Linked DNA regions of Homo sapiens: region 1 is linked to region 2. The links are contacts of gene promoters, found by promoter capture Hi-C in blood cells and fetal thymus (Javierre and others, 2016). All regions are on one chromosome and are shown on one strand. The core of a region is centred on a gene start or on the middle of the fragment in contact, and the rest is flanking DNA. Distances in the headings are between cores, read along the strand shown. Region 1 overlaps ZNF236-DT (ZNF236 divergent transcript). Region 2 holds the start of MBP (myelin basic protein).

Region 1 (6,525 bases), core at 1,139-3,638, 330 kb after region 2:
TAAAAAGAAAAAAAAATTCATGATCTGGAAGCCCGAGTGTAGCTAACTGGTGGACAGATGAAAGTGAAATGTGTGATGTTTCCTAAGACCCCCTAAGACTTCCCTGAGCCACGGGAGGCTCTCACGAGTGTGTAAGCCAGGGTTTTGGGGAAGGGGTGGATGTGTGTGTCTCGCATTTTCCCAGCTGCCTCTCCTTTCCCCTTCTTCCTTGCTCCCGGAGACTTCCTTGTGGATTCCTTCCCAGAACTTGGTCTGAATTCCCTAATAGACATTCTCCTAGCGGGATGAGTCCCCCTTTACAGCACTCGGGAAATGCCTGCTCCTCTAGCTGTCTCTGATCCACCTCTCCTGTCTTTCAACTAAGGCCCCCACATGCCAGACCATCGTTGGTGGACCTCGTCACCAGCATGAAGTGGGCTCTTGGAGTTGTCGACTGACTAGTTCACAATTAGTGACTCATAGCATCTCACTCATTTCCTTTTCATCAGTAGGAGGCAGCAGTCTGCACTTTTGCATCACATTTCAAAGACATCTGTGTGTTTGTTCTCGTGCAGAACACTTTGACTATTGTAACCTCTAGGTCCATGAATGACCCTCATCTTCAGTAAAAGTGGATTCACGCTGGCAAAGTCTGCTTTGTTTTATTGTGACACATGGAACATTATGGATTTTGGTGAATAAAAACTAACTTAAATTGAAGTCATTCTTGTAAAATGAAAATACATTTTTCTGCTGTTCTTAACTTTATAATATAGATACATACTATGTCTTATGAAATAGTAAATGGAAAACACGATTCAAAAAGCGCTATTTTGGTAAATAACTTGCATAAAGGGCATATGGACAACACAAGTCCACAACACAATAGACAACAGACAACACAACCTGTTACACAGGCACTCAAGTTCGTCTGCAGATTTGGTTTTCTTTTTTTTTTTTTTTTCACTCCTGATGCCCAGGCTAGAGTGCAATGGCGCGATCTTGGCTCATTGCAACCTCTGCCTCCAGGGTTCAAGCGATTCTCCTGCTTCAGCCTCCCGAGTAACTGGGATTACAGGCATGCACCACCACGCTGGGCTAATTTTGTATTTTTAATAGAAATGGGATTTCTCTGTGTTGGTCAGGCTGGTCTTGAACTCCCAACCTCAGGTGATCCGCCCGCCTTGGCCTCCCAAAGTGCTGGGATTATAGGCGTCAGCCACCAGGCACAGCCTACAGATTTGGTTTTCAATATCACTTGACATGCACAAAGTACGGGTGAACAAGCACTTTTATTCTTTTTTCTTTTTTTCTTTTTTTTTTTTTTCTTTTTGAGATGGAGTCTCGCTCTGTTGCCCAGGCTAGAGTGCAGTGGCGCAATCTTGGCTCACTGCAACCTCTGCCTCCCAGGCTCAAGAGATTCTCCCACCTCAGCCTCCCGAGCAGCTGGGATTAGGACCACCACGCCTGGCTAACTTTTGTATTTTTAGTAGAGACAGGGTTTCACCATGTTGGCCAGGCTGGTCTCAAACTCCTGACCTCAGGTGATCCTCCCGCCTCGGCCTCCCCTCAGCTGGGATTACAGGCGTGAGCCACCGTGCCTGGCCACAAGCACCTTTTTTCTTTATCTCCTATGTTTGAAATTAAAATGAAAAAAATGTATAAACCTTATTTAATTAACAAGTGATGAGTCATTTTTAGTAAATGGACCTAAATACCTTAAGAAAGCCATCAAGTGTCAAATAGAGAGATGTAAGCTACCATGGAGAGCCTTTCGGGACGTATGGAAGGAACCAGTTTGCAATGACAACATGCTGTGGGTGGTGCCTACCTACACTGAAAGATTCGGATGGGTTTTTCAGAGTGCCCTCTTCACTGTCTTCCTTCACCCAGCCCGCCTCCTCTTCCAGGACTCCGACCCACTTTCCTCCTGCGCCCTCTAGTGTCTGTCTGCTTTTCCGTTCCCCCCATTTCTACCTTAGGATTTTTCTGTGCCTTTCATTCATCCTCCGTCTGCGTCTCCCGTGGTACTGACTTCAAAACCCCTGACTGTACCGAAACTCGGTGTGAACGAGGACTGCAGTGCTGCTGGGGATGCATTCTCCATTTGTACTTGAAGAGTTACGTCAAAACCTAAACTGTAGGCCTGACAGATAATGATAATTTGTCTATGGCAAAAACATAAGCTTAACTGCCTATCCTAATATAACAGGAAGCTAAACTATTTATACTGAACTGAATTCTCCTACATTTACAACTCATAAACCTGCAGCTTCCTGGACAGGCAGCAGACACTCCCAAACTCCGCTGTGTCCTAGTATATAATACTTTCGGCCAACCTACATGTGTAACTTACATCATTTTCAGAATATGAATGCTTCAAGTGGCATATTAGACATTAATAATTTAAGCAATGAAATTAACTGATACAGAATATATAGGTAAATAATAAAAGAAGTAATTAAAAATCTTTGTTTCATCAGTTCATATTAGCTATATATGTTCTCAAGTCTCAAAGAAAAGGTATTATTTCAAAGCAACTTAAAAAATATTTAAAAATTAGCACCCTATAGTTCTCATTTAATAAGTTAAATGGGTAATTAATTGGCATTTTATTTCAATAGAAGCTTATTTCAAAAAGCTTTCTACAGAGTTATTTTGTGTAAAATGGTAATTATGCCCACAATTTTCTAAATGAAGCTTGCAGAAAGGGCTCATTTTTGCCATAAACATAATTTTCATTGATGTTTCCCTTAAAGACAAATGTTTCCTTCACTGAAATAGACTTTTGGAAATTGTTTAATTATTTTTACCTTGGCAATTATGTCACCTTCCTTGAATATCCTCATTAATTACATTGCCACTGGTACCTCTGAAGTATTTGGTGTTTTCTTAAGTTCTTTAAGCTCTTTATTTTATTTTATTTTATTTATTTATTTTTTGAGACAGTCTCGCTCTGTCGCTCAGGCTGGAATGCAGCGGCCTGATCCCGGCTCCCTGCAACCTCTGCCTCCCGGGTTCATGTAATTCTCCTGCCTCAGCCTCCGGAGTAGCTGGGATTACAGGCTCGCACCACCAAGCCCGGCTAATTTTGGTATTTTTAGTAGAGACAGGTTTTGCCATGTTGCCCGGGCTGGTCTCAAACTCCTGACTGCAAGTGACCCGCCTGCCTGGGCCTAAGTTCTTTAAGATCTTAATGTAGAGTCTGAAAAGAGGGTTTCAGTCTGGGATTAAGTGCCTTTTTTTTTTTTTTTTTTTTTTTTTGCGACGGAGTCTCCTGCCTCAGCCTCCCTAGTAGCTGGGACTACAGGCGCGCACCACCATGCCCAGCTAAGTTTTTGTATTTTTAGTAGGGATAGGATTTCGCCATGTTGGCCAGGATGTTCTCAAACTCCCAACCTCAGGTGATCCGCCCACCTCGGCCTCCTGAAGTGCTGGGATAACACGTGTGAGCCACCGCTCCCGGCCAAGTGCCAATTACTTAATATTCCTAACTTTTTAACATATCCTAAAATACAACTCCACACCCAAGTTCAGGCGCTCGCGGATGGTCTTTTGTTGGCCGCACTCCTCCCTCCGGCTCTGCTCCAGCCCAGCCCCAGCCTCCTACCCTGGGGGCACCGCTGTCCCGCGGCCGAAGAAGCTGCGCCGCACCGGCCTCTGCCGCCACCTGGCGCCCGGCCGGGGCACGACGCACTGGACACCTTCCTAATAATATGAGCCGCACGCTCCCGTGGGGCACCCCTGACCCTCGCGGCCGCGCGTCTCAGCGCCCCTTCCGTGGGCTGCGGGTCTCACCCCCCAATCCCACTCCCACGTGGGCCCAGGTTCCTTCCGGGTTGAAAGCAGGGAACCTGCAGAGCTCACTCATCCTAAAAACGACCTTAATCCTGCTAGCCTCCAGGAGCCCCGCACCCTGCTCGCCCTGGCCCCGGGGAGGGCACCCCATCCCGCCACCCCACACCCCAGAGCCGACTCAGGGCTAAATCCTCCCCTTAGCTCCGTCAGGGCCCTGAATGACCCCCCCGCACACCCGTGCGCACTTCCCCTGGGCTGGCCTGACCCCCATACCTGCAGCCCCTTCTTTGCCCAGTCCCTCAGCTGCTCTCAAAGCCAGTGTCCTCAAGACTGCGCCTGTCACGGTCGTGCGTGGTCCCCACGCAGTCGGCGCCTAGACCTATCCTACTGGATCGCCCAGAGGCCTCAACGGAAGGCTGTGCTTTCTTTTTTCTTCTTTGGGGGGCGAGGGAGGCAGGGAGAGGGGTCTCGCTCTGTCGCTCAGGCTGGAGTGCTGTGGCGCGATCTCGGCTCACTGCAACCTCTGCCTCCCGGGTTCAAGCAGTTTCCTGCCTCAGCCTCCCAAGTAGCTGGGACTACAGGGCCCCGCCATCACACCCAGCTAATGTTTTTAGAGATGGGGTTTCGTCATGTTGGCTAGGCAGGTCTTGAACTCCTGACCTCAAGTTATCCTCCCGCCTCAGCCTCCCAAAGTGCTGAGATTACAGGCATGAGCCACTGCTCCGGCACTTAAAATCCACTTTTCATTACACATCACAATAGAATTGAGAAATGGTTTGTTCTTGTTATGTAGAATAAGAGATGACACTTCAAAATGATGATTTTTAAAAATTTTCGCTCAGCTCATGGGGCACCCACTTATTGAGCTTTTTATCTTTCCAATTTGCTTCAAATGCCAAACGACCATTGAATGGCCAACGTTGAGTTCTTTGGCAACTTCTCCTGTAGCGTAAGAGGATCAGCTTTGATGACTGCCCTCAATTGATCACTGTCAACTTCTGAAGGCCGGCATCTATTGGCAAAACTTCTCGAACCACCACTGCACTGTGTGTGCCCTAGCAGTTTCTGGGCCAAATGAATTGTTGATGTTGCCAGTTGTCTCTTCTGCATTTTGACCTCAAATAAGAAAATTGCTCAAATTTGCTTTTTGTCTAACATCATTTCCATAGTCTAAAATAAACGTAAAATAAACAGCAAGTAATGTCATTAGCAAAAAAAATAAAGCGAGAAATGCCCGTTAAAATGATGTATGACATATTTATTTAAGAACATATTCCAATATCAAACAGCAAATTCCAACAATGCAAAAACCACAATTACTTTTGCATTCACCTAAAATTGGAACGATACAGAGAAGACTAGCATGGCCCCTTAAAAAAAAATACATAAACTGCAGAAGGGATTATTTTATGTAGTCTAATTTGTTTTGTTTGTTTGTTTAGACCTAAGTATTGGCCAGTTTTTCATCCTTACATTTTTGTGTGTCTGACCTTCATCTGGCATCATCTTCCTTCTGCCTGATATACAGGTATATTTTTTACAAGTTTTCTTAGTGAGGATGTCTAGTGGCAAACACTCATTTTTTTTAACTGAAAATGTCTTTATCTTACCCTAATTCTTTTTTTTTTTTTTTTTTTTTTGAGACTAGATCTCACTCTGTTGCCCAGGTTGGAGTGCAGTGGCACAATCATAGCCTAGTATCCTCCATCTCCTGGGCTCAAGTTATCCTTCTGCCTCAGCCTCCCAAGTAGCTGGAACTACAGGCATGCACTGCCATGCCCAGCTAACGTTTTAAAAATTTTATTAGAGACAAGGTCTCACTATGTTGCCCACGCTGGTCATGAACTCTTGAGCTCAAGCTCCCCGCCTCCCAAAGTGCTGGGATTACAGGTGTGAGCCACTGCACCCGTATTTTGCTCTAATTCTTTTTTTTTTTTTTTTTTTTTTTGAGATGGAGTTTTGCTCTCGTCAGCCAGGCTGGAGTGCAATGGTGCGATCTCGGCTCACTGCAACCTCCACCTCCTGGGTTCAAGCACTTCTCCTGCCTCAGCCTCCCGAGTAGCTGGGATTACAGGCACGCACCACAACACCTGGCTAATTTTTTTTGTATTTTTAGTAGAGATGGGGTTTCACCATGTTGGTCAGGCTGGTCTTGAACTCGTGACCTCAGGTGATCCGCTTGCCTTGACCTCCCAAAGTGCTAGGATTACAGGCAAGAGCCACCACGCCCGGCGCTCTAAATATTAAAATATATTTTTTTTCTACATATAGTATTTTAGGTACACAATTATTTTCTTTTGAGCCCACTAACAATATTCCATTTTTAGCTCTGCCTCTGTTGTGGGTGATGAAAATAGATAATCTTTGTTCATTTGGACATCTCCATCGTCTTCAGTGGCTGCCTTGGAGGCTTCTCTTAGTTGTTGGTGCTTGATAACTCATTATGGTGCCTAACTGTGGGTTCTTTTTATTTATTCCATTTACTTATTCATTAGAAATTCTCAAGAATTATAATAATAATAATTATTATTATTATTATTATTATTATTATTTTGAGACAAAGTCTCACTCTGTTGCCCCAGGCTGGAGTACAATGGCGTGATCTTAGCTCACTGCAACCTCCGCCTCCCAAGTTCAAGCGATTCTCCTGCCTCAGCCTCCTGAATAGCTGGGATTACAGGTGCCCGCCACTACGCCCGGCTAATTTTTGTATTTTTAGTAGAGACAGGTTTTCACCATGTTGGTCAG
Region 2 (4,169 bases), core at 1,419-3,918:
ATCATATTCAGTCCTGGCCGGGCGTGGTGGCTCAGGCCTGTAATCCCAGGACTTTGGGAGACCCAGGCAGGTGGATCACCTGAGGTCAGCGGTTCGAGAACAGCCTGGCCAACGTGGTGAAACCCCATCTCTACTAAAAATACAAAAATTAGCTGGGCATGGTAGCGGTTGCCTATAATCCCAGCTACTCGGGAGGCTGAGGCAGGAGAATTGCCTGAACCTGGGAGGCGGAGGTTGCAGTGAGCTGAGATTGCACCATTGCACTCCAGCCTGGGCCACAGAGCAAGACTCCATCTAAAAAAAAAAAAGAAAGAAAAAAAAAAGTTCAGTCCTTTCCTAAGCAAAACATCATAACAAAGACAAATCTGTTGATGAGGAAACTAAAGAAAACTCAAAGTTCGTGCAGTCTGAGGTCTGTTGGAAACTATTTAGATTCATTTACTTCCTTTAGCTTGGGTAATTTGGAGTTTAATTCAGCTTAACAAAAATTTATTGAGTGTATTTCATGCACAAAACATTTTGCTATTTGCTGCCATATGAGATGATGGATAGGTCAAACTTTCTGCTCTCCGGTACCTTGTGAAAGATGGGGGTAACTGCAATGTGATTTTCTTAGAAATGTCAAAGACACAATGAGGCTTTGATGGGTTACTTGTCAAAAGATGCCTTTCAATTTTATTCAGCACAACGAATCTCTGTCACTTTGCTGAGGGCTACATGGACATCTTCATGTGAAAGTTTGTCTCTCGACAGTGAAATGCCAGCCTCTGTTTCTTCCATCCACTGTCCTCAACCTGGGGTCCTTTTTCTAACCGGGAGGGCATGAAAGCCCCCAAGATAAGACCAGTTGATCCAAATGTGAATCCACTGTTTTATTAAATAGTATTATCTACATGTTTTCTTTGAAGAATCCATGACTTTTCTAAACTGCCTGGCTGCCCATCTGTGTGGACACTCTATCCCAACAAAATATGCACGGTGAAATTTCATAAATACTTTAAAAAGACTTTTAACTGGAACTTGTGGAGCCTGACATTTGTAGGGCTGACTGTTGGCATATGTAGTGTTTCAGGAAACCACTGTAACACCAGCAGAAGGAGCACCAAACAGAAGGCCGCGTGTGCAGCTGTCACTGTGGCCTGAGGGACGCTCCAGAGCCCAGCACACAGGGACATCTGCAGGCAGGAAGGTGGCCCCGCCCTGTGGAGTCACTGAGATAAAGCCAAGAGATATTTTGGGGAGGAAAAGCTGTTTCTGATGCTAAAGCAGGTATCTAAAATGGGACCCATTTTAGTGTTCCAGCTTCCCCAGCCTGAGCTTTGAGTGACTTGAGCTGGGACCTGGGTGCACCCGGGTTCATTGTCACCACCCGTGCTCCTAGGGCAGCTGTCCAGCCTCCCACGCCCACTCCGCTCATCCTTGACTTAAAGTGAGGTTGTGGGGCAGAAAAATTGGAGAAACACACTATCTTTGGCACCCTTTTCCCTCCTCACCTTCAGCCTCAAAGTCTCAGAACCCTCCTGCCCCCTCCACTTGAAAATCTCTCCTGAGGAAACGACCAGACTGAATGCTTTTGCGTCGTTGTGGAAGTATTTCTCTTCCAGTTGCCAGCATTTGAAGACAGTTGCTAAATCCTCCGGGGCTTTGGGGGAGGCTGGTTTTAGGCCGAAACCCCGACCCCGTGCTGAAGTCTGAGTCCCGCCTCCCAGCGCGGGCCGGGACAGCGCTCACCCCTCTCCCTCACTTCCTAACAAACTGTGTGGGTCCCAGGCTGCTCCAGGTCCCCTGGAAGCTCCAGATCCAGATCCCTGACTGGGGGTGTAGGTCAGGAGGAACGCGGGGCCTCATTCTGGGACTCCCCCAACCTCCTCCTCTTCCACCATCAGGAGGCTGAGAATCCAGAGAAAGATCTCTGACCACTAAATCTGTGTGCAGGTGAGTCACGGCTAAACAGCAGGCTTTTTCTTTTTAACAAGACAGCGACGAAGACCACGATGTCTCTGGGCTGCAGGACCAGGCTGCTTCCTCGCACCTGCGCGTGTTTTGCTGTCTTTTCCGCGCACGCTTCCTGCGCCGGTCCTGCAGGAGAAGGTGCGCCCCTAGCTCCCAGCTCCCAGCTCCCAGCTCCCAGAGGAGCACCTGCCAGCCGGACATGGGCCTGGCCTGGGCTCCAGGGGAGGGAGGGAGTGCCTTGGGAGGACCTGCCGGCTCCTTTCGCCTCCAGGCCGGGCTGACTCTCCTCCTGCAGGGCCGGGGCTGCGCCAAGTCTATCGGCAGTTTCTGGGGTTTCCAGCCCCTGAGGACGCGGGGAGATGCGGCCTGGCACCCCTCCCGCGAGGTCGAGGTCGGGGTCGGGGTGGGTTCGGAGGCCAAGCCTCCGAACGGGAAGGGTCGACGGGCCGCAGTTCGGAGCCCAGTTCGGCAGCGGGCGAGGCTCCAGGCCGCCCCTCCGAGGTCTGACCCTGCGCGTGGGCCCCGTGCGCCCCCCAAGTTCCGCGTGGGCAGAGCGGGCCCGGGGTCCTCCGAGCTCCCGGGGCGGCGCCGGCGGCCGCGTCCAGGTGGGGCGGGCCCGGCGGGATCGGCCTGTGTTTACCTGGCTCGCAGGAAGCCCGGGGAGGCGGGGCCGGGGAGCTGGGTGCGCGCCCGTCCCTCGGAGCCGCCGCCGTCAGTCACCGCCGCCGCGCGCCAGAGAGAAGCAGCCTCCGGCCCCGGCGGCCCCTGTCTCCCGACCCCGGAAGGCGAAGCAGGCTGCCCGGGGACCCCGCGCGTGGGCGCTTGAAGCCGAGACCAGCCTGCCCGGGCCTGGGCAGGCGGAGCAGGGCCTTGGACCCCGCGGCGCCCCTCGGCCTCGGAGCAACGAGCGCAGCGCCGGTGGGTGACCCTCGGGGACGGGCGGGCTGCTCTGCCGCCTTTGTCTCTGTGCCCCTCCGAGTGGGGACCGCGGAGACCTGGGCGGGACCCCGGACCGGAGCCCCGCGGGAGCCGGGGGCGCAAGATCGGGGACAGGAGCTATCCCGACGCCCGGACTCCGGGTCCCTTTCTTGGCTGGGGACGCGCAGGGAGAACCTAGGCAGCGGAGCAGGTGGCCGAGCAGGTAGCAGCCGGCGGCCTCCCTGACCCGAACCCAAGTCGCCGCCCCCGATCCCCATTGCGCGGGGGCTGGGCGCGGGTGTAGACGCGGGTTTACAGCGCCGGGGCCCGACCCTGACAGGTGTCCAGGGGTGGACTCCAGCCAGGCCCGGCGGTCCCAGGGTCGCTGAAACCGCTCGGCCTCGGGCCGTGGGGCTGAGGGGAGGAGTCTAGGGTGGGAGGGGACGGCGGTCAAAAGCGGCCACTCTGGGCGGGTGTGGAGAGGGTGCTGGCTGCCAGGGCGGGCTGGGGGGTCCTCCCGGCTCGCGGCGCCTGCTAATCACACCCCGGGGGCCCCGCGCGCGATCGCGCTCCTGCCCCTGCCCCCGGGGCGAAGCGCAGTCTCCCTCTGAGCTCCAGGGGCGGCCAGGAGAGCCCGGGTCCGGGCTTCCGCCTTCGCAGGGCCTGTCTCGGGCTCTTCGGCCGGGCCCGTCGCTGCGCCCACCTGGGCCCACGTGCGCCGCCCGCAGCCGCCCGCCGGCCCGCCCGGGTCTTCCCGGCAGTCCCCTCCTGGGCCCCACTGCCTGTCCTGGGCCGGGTGCGTCCGTTTTCCGTGGCCCCCGAGGCCGGGGTGTGTGACCTGCGGTCATTTGCCGCCACACTAGATTTTCCGGGGTGCTGGGGGCAGCGCCTTGTGTCCTTTCGCGTCCACCTGAGCCCCCCCGTTTTGGAAGGTGGAGTGGGGCTTGGGAAAAGGTTCAAGCGTCTTTGGGGACCCCCGTGCGACTCTGGCTGGAAACAGGCGAGCTCTGGTTCCTTGTTCCGTTTTCCAATTGCAACAACGTGAGAATCAACAAGTGCTCGGTTTCTCTGCGCGTGGGTGAGGGGCGCGTGGGCTCGCTGGGTGCTGGGGTGGGGAGGGGGCGTGGACTTCGTTCCGGGGAGGCCTCTGCCTCGTCTGACCACAGAACGCCCCGCCTGGAAAGAGAGTTTTTCAGAGGAAGGAAACGTCAGGGAACTCCAGTGTGTGTTTTGGACATTTTATCTGGCGAAGCTCCGGGGGACAGTTTAAGGACGGTCACCCTCAAGTCAGGGGACCG

Evidence for each region. Contacts are between HindIII fragments. The CHiCAGO score rates a contact against its expected background, and 5 or more counts as called.
Region 1: a fragment that was not itself captured here is called in contact with the fragment with the promoter of MBP in region 2 in 3 of 17 cell types (monocytes, erythroblasts and total CD4 T cells); the score reaches 6.2 in monocytes.

The regions. Positions count from the first base shown.
Region 1 is chr18:76,799,329-76,805,853 of GRCh38, reverse strand. The region is part of intron 2 of ZNF236-DT (ZNF236 divergent transcript); the gene reads left to right. It also overlaps the pseudogene RNU6-346P. Among named protein-coding and RNA genes, the nearest start is that of ZNF236-DT, 20 kb to the left of the region's middle. RefSeq lists a silencer at 3,529-3,578. The HindIII fragment of the contact is 441 bases long and covers 2,168-2,608 here.
Region 2 is chr18:77,131,282-77,135,450 of GRCh38, reverse strand. It overlaps MBP (myelin basic protein), which reads left to right and starts at 2,668. Exons shown (of 9, transcript NM_001025101.2): 1 at 2,668-2,871. RefSeq lists a silencer at 2,404-3,703. The HindIII fragment of the contact is 15,459 bases long and covers 1-4,169 here.